Regions from separate parts of the Homo sapiens genome. Here region 1 is linked to region 2. Evidence: promoter capture Hi-C in 16 types of primary human blood cells and fetal thymus (Javierre and others, 2016). All regions are on one chromosome and are shown on one strand. The core of a region is centred on a gene start or on the middle of the fragment in contact, and the rest is flanking DNA. Distances in the headings are between cores, read along the strand shown. Region 1 has its middle 7.0 kb from the start of GGACT. Region 2 holds the start of MBNL2 (muscleblind like splicing regulator 2).

Evidence for each region. The method cuts DNA at HindIII sites, captures the fragments that hold promoters and counts their contacts. A CHiCAGO score of 5 or more calls a contact.
Region 1: a fragment that was not itself captured here is called in contact with the fragment with the promoter of MBNL2 in region 2 in 1 of 17 cell types (total CD4 T cells); the score reaches 5.2 in total CD4 T cells.

Annotation. Positions count from the first base shown.
Region 1 is chr13:100,593,522-100,598,102 of GRCh38, reverse strand. No RefSeq gene overlaps it. Among named protein-coding and RNA genes, the nearest start is that of GGACT, 7.0 kb to the right of the region's middle. The HindIII fragment of the contact is 569 bases long and covers 2,231-2,799 here.
Region 2 is chr13:97,221,083-97,225,756 of GRCh38, reverse strand. MBNL2 (muscleblind like splicing regulator 2) reads right to left here and starts at 3,424. Exons shown (of 9, transcript NM_001382683.1): 1 at 3,226-3,424. RefSeq lists an enhancer at 3,343-3,402. The HindIII fragment of the contact is 4,024 bases long and covers 3,051-4,674 here.

The sequences.
Region 1 (4,581 bases), core at 1,266-3,765, 3.4 Mb before region 2:
AAAAAAAAAAAAAAAAAAAAAAAGTTTGTTCCAGTTATTACCCTCAAAACTTAGTGGCTTAAAATAACAGTTTAATTTGCTTATTGTGATGGTTTTGTTTTTTGAGACAGAGTCTCACTTTTTGGCCCAGGCTGGAATGCAGTGGCGTGATCTTGGCTCACTGCAACCTCTGCCTCCCGGGTTCAAGCGATTCTCCTGCCTTAGCCTCCCTAGTAGCTGGGATTACAGGAGCATGCCACCATGCCTGGCTAATTTTTGTATTTTTAGTATGGGTGGGGTTTTGCCACATTGGCCAGGCTGGTCTCAAACTCCTGACCTCAGGTGATCCACCCACCTCGGCCTCCCAAAGTGCTGGGAGTACAGGCATGAGCCACTTCACCTGGCCTGTGATGGTTCATTTTATATGTCAACTTGAGTAGGTAGGTCATGGGGTGCCCAGATATTTGGTCAACCATCGTTATCCTGATTAATACACTCATGCATCTGCAAGTTGGGCTGGATTCATCCCCAATAGGTCCTCTCTTGCTCCATGCCACATGAGCTGGGGTGGCACAAAGACTGGGACCTGGAATGAATCATCTGTGGTCTTGGTCACCCACGTCTGGCAGTTTGTGCTATTGGCTGTGAGCTCATCTGGAGCTGAGACCTGGAATGCCAACACGTGGCCTCTCCATGTGGCTGCTTAGGCTTCCTCACAGCATGGTGGCTGAGTTCCAAGAGAGTCAAGCAGAAGCTATGTCACCTTTTCTGACCTAGCTTTGGCAGTCACAAAGTGTCTCCTGCCATCATCATAGGTCCATTCAGATTCAAGAGGAGGGAACGCAGACCTCACTTCTCCATGGGAGGCATGTCAACATCACGTTGTAAAAAGAGCACGTGGAATGGGAAATTTTGTGATGGCATCTTAGAAACCCAATTTCCCCCATAGACCTACATAGCGTCTACCTTCCTCTTCTAGATTATTCTTGGGAAATTAAAACGTCAGCATGTCGAGTCAGAGTCTTAACAAAGGCTCTGCCAAAGACGACATCCAGCAGGTATTCACATCACTGGAGCATCCCTCCAGGCACTCTATGTTGCAGTGGTGCCAATCTGGGGATTTGTATTTTGAGGCATATCACTCATTTTCCCCACTCAACCACGCAGACAGTACTGACCTCCTGCAATAACATCACAGATCTCCATTTCTCTCTTCATCCTCTTCCAGTTGGCTTCCACCTTTAGGGGCATGCACTTCCACACAGGTGCCTATCTTTTGGATTAATGAGCCTCCCTCCCTCAGCAGGCTCTTTAAAACAGGGTATAGCTTTTCAAAGCCAAAATCCATCCTGACTCACATTCTACCACATGCTGAGTTGATGACACCAGAGGCAGGGATTAGAGTGATGCTTCTACAAGCCAAGGAACACCAGGGGCCACCAAATGCTGGAAGAGACAAGGAAGAATTCTCCCTTAGAGGCTTCCAGGGTAGCGTGGCCCCTGCCAATACCTCGATCTCAGATGTCCAGCCTGCAGAACTGCAAGAGAATGCATTTCTGTTGTTTGAAGCCACCCAGTCTGTGGGGCCTTGTTATGACAGCCCTAGGGAACTAATAGAGCAAGTCACTTAATCTTTCAGCACCTTGGCTTCCTTGTCTGTAAAATGGGGAATGTAACTTTTTCACAATTATTGAGATGTTTACGTGAGAAAAGACATATAGAGTCCTGGACCAGAGCTTGGTATATCAAAATATTTGATAAATAACTGAAGGGGGGAAAACCCTTCACTTTTCCTATAATTAAATGACCCAGAAATAATTTCAGATTTATATATATATATTTTTTTGAGGGGGGTAGACAGGATCTCGCTCTGTCACTCAGGCTGGAGTGCAGTGGTGCGATCTCAGCCCACTGCAGCCTCAACCTCCTGGGCTCAAGCAATCTTCTTGCCTCAGCCTCCTGAGTAGCTGGGACCACAGGTATGTGCCACCATGCTGGGTTAATTTTTTTTTTTTTTTAGTAGAGACAAGTTCTCCCTATGTTGCCCAGGCTGGTCTTGAACTCCTACTTCAGCCTCCCCTCAAAGTGCTGGGATTATAGGCGTGAATCACCACACCTGGGCAATCACTTATTTTCTGACTAGTTCAAGTAGTTTTAATCAGTTACTTTGTTTATCAAAACTGCCTGAGTGTCCTACATTTCTAATCATTTATTTTTAAATATGTGGCATTTCCCAAAGACCAATAAAGCTTTCTTCTTCCCACTTGTGATGTGTTTGAGAAAATGTTTTCTCTCTTGATTTAAATTCTACTTTTATCCATCTTGTAAAAACAATTTTGTCTCAGCAGTTAAATTTTGATAGCATTAATTATGATGGCTAGACTTGAGATTTGTCTTGAATATCAAAACTGCTCATTTCTAGAACTTTCTGATAAAACATACAGATGATAGCTTTCACAGTACTGGCCTAGGAAACTGCAGACCTCGGCAAACAAGGTGACAGGGTAGAAAAAGCATGGGAACAGGTGTGTGAGAGCTGTGCTAGGATTAACTTCACTGGCATGTGTCTTTTATTTTTAAGTTCCAGCAATCCAATTAGATACAAACAACTCCAATCCTTCCTTTAGTTACTTGGAACCTGGGATGAATCTGTTAATTACTCCATGCCTCAGTTGCTTCTGATAAAAATAATGGTAGTGACACAGGATTTTCTTCTCAGTCATTTTGCAAGATGCAACACCCCACCCAGGCCTCACTCAACCACACTACCTGCTGCAGGACACAGCCTGCCCACTCAGCCTGCCCAGGCCCGGTCAAGCTTATGCACTGATTCCCCAGTTCTTGTCTTACACCCAAGAAGAATGAGGATGCACTGACAATCAAAGCGTGAGCAAGGCGGGGTTACTGAATGATGAAATAGCTTTCATGGAGAGGGGACGCCGGGGTGGTGCCCCTACCCAAAGGTGGGAAAGTTCCCCTAATATGGCTGAGTCTGAGGCTTTTTATGGGCTCAGAATGGAGAAGGGGCAGGCTGTAGGTAATATTGGAAAAGGCAACATTTGATTAGTTAAAAGGCATAATTCAGAAAGAATCAATTGGGAAAGGATGGGCAAAAAGGAACAGAAGTTCTCACTCTGGGTTGCAGACTTCATCCGGGACCGGCAATCCGATCTTTCAGCTTTCAGGCTGTTTTTGGCCTGAAGGTGGCGTTTCACTGGGGACCTGCCCTACCTGCCTAGGCATTTGGCTGCCTCCTGTCACTATCAGTAGTTGTCCTTGCTTTGGTTAATTTCTCCTCTATGAAATAAGATTGGACTAACCCAGGAGTCTTCAAAAATACCTAGATGCTTTATCCTTTTTTAAAAAAACATGAACTCTTATAGAGAAGTCCACTGGAAGAAGTTATAAAGGTGAGCTGCTTTGCATGCTTATGCAAATCCTCATCAAAATCTGTTGTGAAATATCATAATGTTTGAAATGCCAACACCCGCATGGAAATAAAGTATTTTGAAGGTTTCTAGTCCTGATATGGCCTGATCAGTTAAAAAGGTATCTCAGACTGAAAAAGTAAACTTCTGCCCCCTGCCATCCATCAGGCTGAGATAGCACAGATAACGACAGCAGCAGAGGGAGCGGGAAATACGTCCTCCAAGGACACACGGATGTCATATCAGGTCAAATCACCCCCGTCCTTGGGTGCTTGCTGCTTTCTTACTCACTGAGAGGCTTCCTTCTGGAAAAGCATTGACTATCAGAAGGTTTGCTGTTTGAAATCATCAGGACGGAACCATCTCAACTTACCCGGGGGATCCGAGTCTCCTTGAAACAAACAAGCAGCCTCTATTTCCAACCTGGGTGCAGAACTTCCCTTAAAGGGTTTCTGGGTGTGCCAGTCTGCATCTATATTAACTCTAGTCTCCAAGGATGTAGACCCCCAGACTCCAGACCTGATGTTGATCTGTACTCACAGCTCTGTCTGCCTTGAACCTGTCAAAACACTCTTTCCTTTAAATTTCACCTACACGCCACCCCTCCCCTAAGTCTTCAAACTTTACCTTTGCTGAGGCATCCCAGGATTCCTCTGGCCTCAGTCTTCTCTCCTTGCAATGAGCCAATAAATCTGACTTTATCCAACTACAGTTTTGCACCTGGTGGTCTTTGATTGGGCCCAGACAGGCCACGTGCCAATCAAAGCAGAAGAAATTCTCCCTGGTCTTTACTATTTCATGCAAGAATAAGGATCAAATGGATCGTGTGTGTGAAAGTGCTTCACTGAGAGAACTACATGTATAGGATTACTTACTGGAACTAATAATTTTAACAAAGAGGTTCAAATATAAATGATAAGTCCTGATAATATACAGTTCAGGGTATATTACCCAGCTTCCCCGTTTAAACCTCATGGTAAGAGAACAGGTTTTCGGCTCAGCTGGGTGTGAGTTCAAGCCATTGCACGCTTATTTACAGTGTACCTTTGAGTGAGTTATTTTACCTCTCAGAGCCATTTCACAGGTAGAATGGGGATAATAATATCTGGTTCATACTATTGTTCAAAGGATGACACGAGAAGAGTCATGTCGTGCCTGGCATATGAGGCCCACT
Region 2 (4,674 bases), core at 2,175-4,674:
TTTCGTGAACAGGGCGAACTGTCCTCTCCTGTTCTGCCATGCCCCAGGGATCTGTGCTTGCCTGGCCTGACTCTTGACCTGCAGCTCTCTCTGGGCTTTCTTGCTTGTTGATTTTTATGCCCACACCTCCCTACCTTTTTATAACCCCCTTTATCTCCACTGCCCACCTGCCCCCTAGAGTTGCCAGGTTTCTCTGCTTGGCACAACCCAGCCAGCTCTGACATGTAGCTGTACCTGAAGATGGTAAAGGCCCCCAAAACTATGTTTTCAACAACCAACATGTCTTGTAGTTATCCACCTTTTCCCGAATCAGAATCCTTCACCCCTTGCAATGTTGCCAACCTATTTCTATGTTGATAATCTGTTTTGTCATTTTGGAAATGTAAACAAATCAGTATACCTTCCTTTTCATCTTTTTCTTGTTATCGGTAGGAAAGTACAGGAAAAAAGGAAGAGAAAATGCATGAGAGATTGAACCTACTTATTCTACTATAAGGAATTCTCTTAAGCTCAGCATCTAAATCCTCTTTTCCCAATTCTTGCTTGGAATCTTGAGTACCTGATCTTGAATTTCTATGGCACTCCCTGAGCGCGGGACTGGCTGGTAGCCATGTGATATTGATTTGTTTTCACCATAGCAACAGCAAATTGAAACAACTAGCAGAGAGAAGGCAGGCTGTTAACCAGTAAAGCTACCTAACCAGTATATTTCACAAGCATATTTTTCTCCTTCCCTCTTGTTTTTTCTCTTATTTACTCCACTTTCACAAATTTAACACAAAAGTCAAAGGAAAAACAGCATTAAATGTTTTGGGCACTACAAGGCCTGTGGCCAGAATAGTGTGCTTTGCAGAGCTTCTAGTATATTAGATTAGATCGATGGAAAAAATGCAAACAACAACGCTTTGATTTCCTTGGAAATTTCATTTGTTGAACTAAGAAAAAGTATCCCTAAAAAATTTACATGAGCACAAAGTAGAGTGAAGGGTTTTGTGTATATGACTATGTATCTTAATACTCTAAGGTGTTTGCCAACAGTTTCTTAATACCGAGGTTTTATCCCTTTGTACTTTAAATAGCTCAATGTGCCAAGAGACAAACAACTTTTTTTTTTTTTTTTTTTTTTTTGGTAAAAGGTCAAGGTCTCAAAATGCTAAATGATGAGGGAAAGTGTAGCAAGTATGATTCAATTCTATTAAAAGACAGAAAAATCAAGGTAGGCACTTGCTCAAAACTACGTGAGTAGTCAGAGAGGAGACACAAATTAGCTTTGGGAACTCCCGAGAACTCCAATGTGCTCCAGTCAAAATCTTTTTTAAAAGGTTCCTTTGTAAACATTACCCTTCCCCCGATCTCTGTGACCAAGGTTGCCACCTGTGACATGGATTTGCAGCCTGCAGTATTGTACTTCCCCTGCTTGGGGCCATCTGTGCTAGGACATGATGATTTTTCTATGAAAGCAGCTGTTCTCACCATCACAACCAGCCTTGAACTTGGTGGCACAACCTGGATCCTAAATAGTGGCTCTGGAGCAACTGGGAATAGGGCCCCGGGGACCATCCACCCAGGTGGCAGCGCTGGGCTGCACCAAGGGGGAGTCAGGCCAGAAAAAAAGCTTTGCCCTGCTCCCTGCTGCTTTTTGCCAGCCCAGCCAGAAGCCCTGCAGAAAACCTGTGCTGACCGGCCCGACATGTGGCAGGTACAAGAAGATGCCCTATTTATGAGGGGACAGGTTTACAATTTACAAAAGACAGGCGAAAATATAAAGACATAACTTAAGTCCTGCCAGTGGGGAGTTAGAATGTTCCTGGCCAGGACATAAAGAAATATTCCTCTCCACAAGCTCGAATAAAGGAACACACAGCAGAAATAGTTGGGGGATGACGTCAGAAGTTCTGGGCTAGTGTCCTGCACTTCTCCTTGAAAGTAAAAACAGTGGGTCTAGAAGAATCTACGTGGCATTGCCCTTATTTAAATGAGTAGTTCTACTGCTCCTTGCAAAACAAGTAGGATAGCTGAAGAAACTTCCTCTTATTTAAAGATTATAAGAATGTTCCCCCTGCCTTTTTTAAAAACCTTATTGTCCCCAAAACACACACATTACCCAATTAACAAATAGCTTTCCACTTAACCTTTGTCTTTTAAAGGGACAGTAATGTTTCTTGTAGAACATTCAAGGTGGTGGTGGTTAGGCAAGTCAGATTTTTTTCTTCGCTTCAGTGCTTGCTAACTATTCTAAAAATGTTACACATTTATTGTAAACACATGCTTCCGAGGCCTAACAAAAAAGCACAGTTTCCTCATGCCTGGCAGAAATTTAAAACGGAAAAGGGCAGAAAGAATTCTTTAGCAAATATATCCTTTCCTTCTCCTGGGCCAAGTGTGTTAAAAATAAATCTTCTCCATCATTTCTCACTGCTGCTTCTCAGCGAGAAAGTTGATATGGTTCGGCATAGTGAAAACACAGCTTTAAAAGCTAGCCTGCCCTCATTAAATTATTCTGCTGGCTGTGTGTTCTCATTAAAAATGCATAAAGATCAGATAATTGCAGTAAGCATTATTAACCCAGCTTTACTTTTGAATATAATGGTTCCACTTTTAAGCTGGAAACAAAGGCTCAGACATGCCAGGAAAAGAAATGTAAACATTGAACTACAGTATCGAAAACTTGCCAGAAAGCTACCTCTTGCTAGGTTGTTTAAAATGTGCTTTTGAAACTCAATTAAAGCTGTAGCATTGTAGAGCTAGGTAGGTCCCTAATTTTTAATAAATAGACACATACGTTTGGCCAAACATTCAACCGATGATTATTTACCATGAATTTTTTTTTAATCCTTAATTGCAAGTCTGTTTTCAAATAATAGGATCCATGTAAACTTTATCTATTTGGGAACTAGCTATGGCAATATAACAATTTTTCACAGCAAGAAAATAAGATTGCTCCAAAGAATTCAAATGGTTTTTAAAAAATAATATAATAAATGAATCGATTCTTTGCATAAAAACTCGATTTCTTGCCTCACCCCAAACAGGCGGCATAGATTCAAGCTTTGCCATTTCTTTTTCTCAAATCAAAATGTTACGTAAAACTCCAGGGTCCCCCGCAAGTATTACAATTGAATTAGTGGAATCCAGTTTCCCTGGCTCCCGTAAGCAGCACACATGGAATGCAGCATACTGCAGCAAACTCTTTAAACATTCAAAAAAGGGGGGCGATTCTCCTACCTTGTTTAGCTCTGCCTGTCCTTCCCATTTACAGTAACCCCAGGAACATCTGGCAGAACCAAGTGGCCGAGGCTTCTCCACCGCATCATGAGAAAGAAACTTCCATGTAAATAGTTCTCATTCCCTGTTTATTGTACTCTGAAAGCCGTCTGCCGTATCTGGAAAATTTTACCTTCAGATGATGAAGCAAAGACAGTCTAAACTCTGTTGCTGTAAGCTGCAGCCCTTCCTTCCGACAAATCCCTCCCAGCCGGGGCCAGCCAATCCCCAGCCAGCTCGTCAGCCCTACTCGTCTGAAACTGGCCCTAATAGGATGACTGACACAGTAACACAGCACTTGCAGTGTGTAAAAACAGTGCATCCATACTGATGAAAGAGGAATTTCCCTCTCAGAAGAAAGCAATCATAGCACCAAGACAAAGTGGCACATAATTGGCAGAGCAGAGAGAGGGGTAGCTCAAGAAAACACCCTTGAAGACAGCCAGCTCGAAGCCAGGAGCTTCACCGTGAACACTTGGGAAAATGTGAAACTCCGCAGATTCCAAAGAAATCCAGGTTGTACATGAAACTGAAGTCCTTGGACTATCTGACAAAGCATATGTATATGTTTTTTAAAGGAAAAATAATTCAACGTCTGCCATGGCAGTTAATACCTTACAAAACATTTACATATTTCCATTATTGAGGAAGAATGTGCTAGCCCAAGTGCGTATTCAAAATCAAAACATGCTTATAGCTCTGGCACACACAGGTTTCCTGTATAACATCTGTTATTGCAGTGGTTAATTACTGCGGCCCATTTATCTTTCGTCTAAGTTTTCAGACCACTTGGGACTTCGATTAGGGAATGCTGGACAATAAAATTGATATCTATACACTACCCTTTTCTACTCTTGGCAGGCACCCACGAGAGGATTAGGTGTGCTTTAACCATCTTAGATGCCATTTGATAAATACTGTGCATTGGCTCACATTATCGTTAATGAAGCAATGATTATAGGAAGATGTTTACTGTTGAATACAAGGGGTACATGATCCAAGGGCCCCCATGAGGTGCCATTCCACAAAAGATGTTCTAGGAGGTGCTGGAGTTTCCTGAGATAAAGCAGAAGAAGAGAAAGTTTAGGAAGGGTTATTTATTTATTTATTTATTTATTTATTTCCCAGTCTACAGCATTTCTGTATGCCTTGAAAACAAAAACTCAAAAACATATGGCATTGAGCAAACACAACAAGCATACATTTTCCTCCCCTAAATACCACATTTTGAGAAAAAAAAAGTATGATGATTACATGATGAGACCAAGACAGAACAAAGCCTTTATTCATCTGAAAGGTTGAACCCAATGCACGATTTTTATAAGCAACTGTTCAGCGCATCTGTAATGAAGCAACAGAATGCAATGGAATGCTTTCTTTTTATTTTGCCATTGCATCTTAAAAACATAA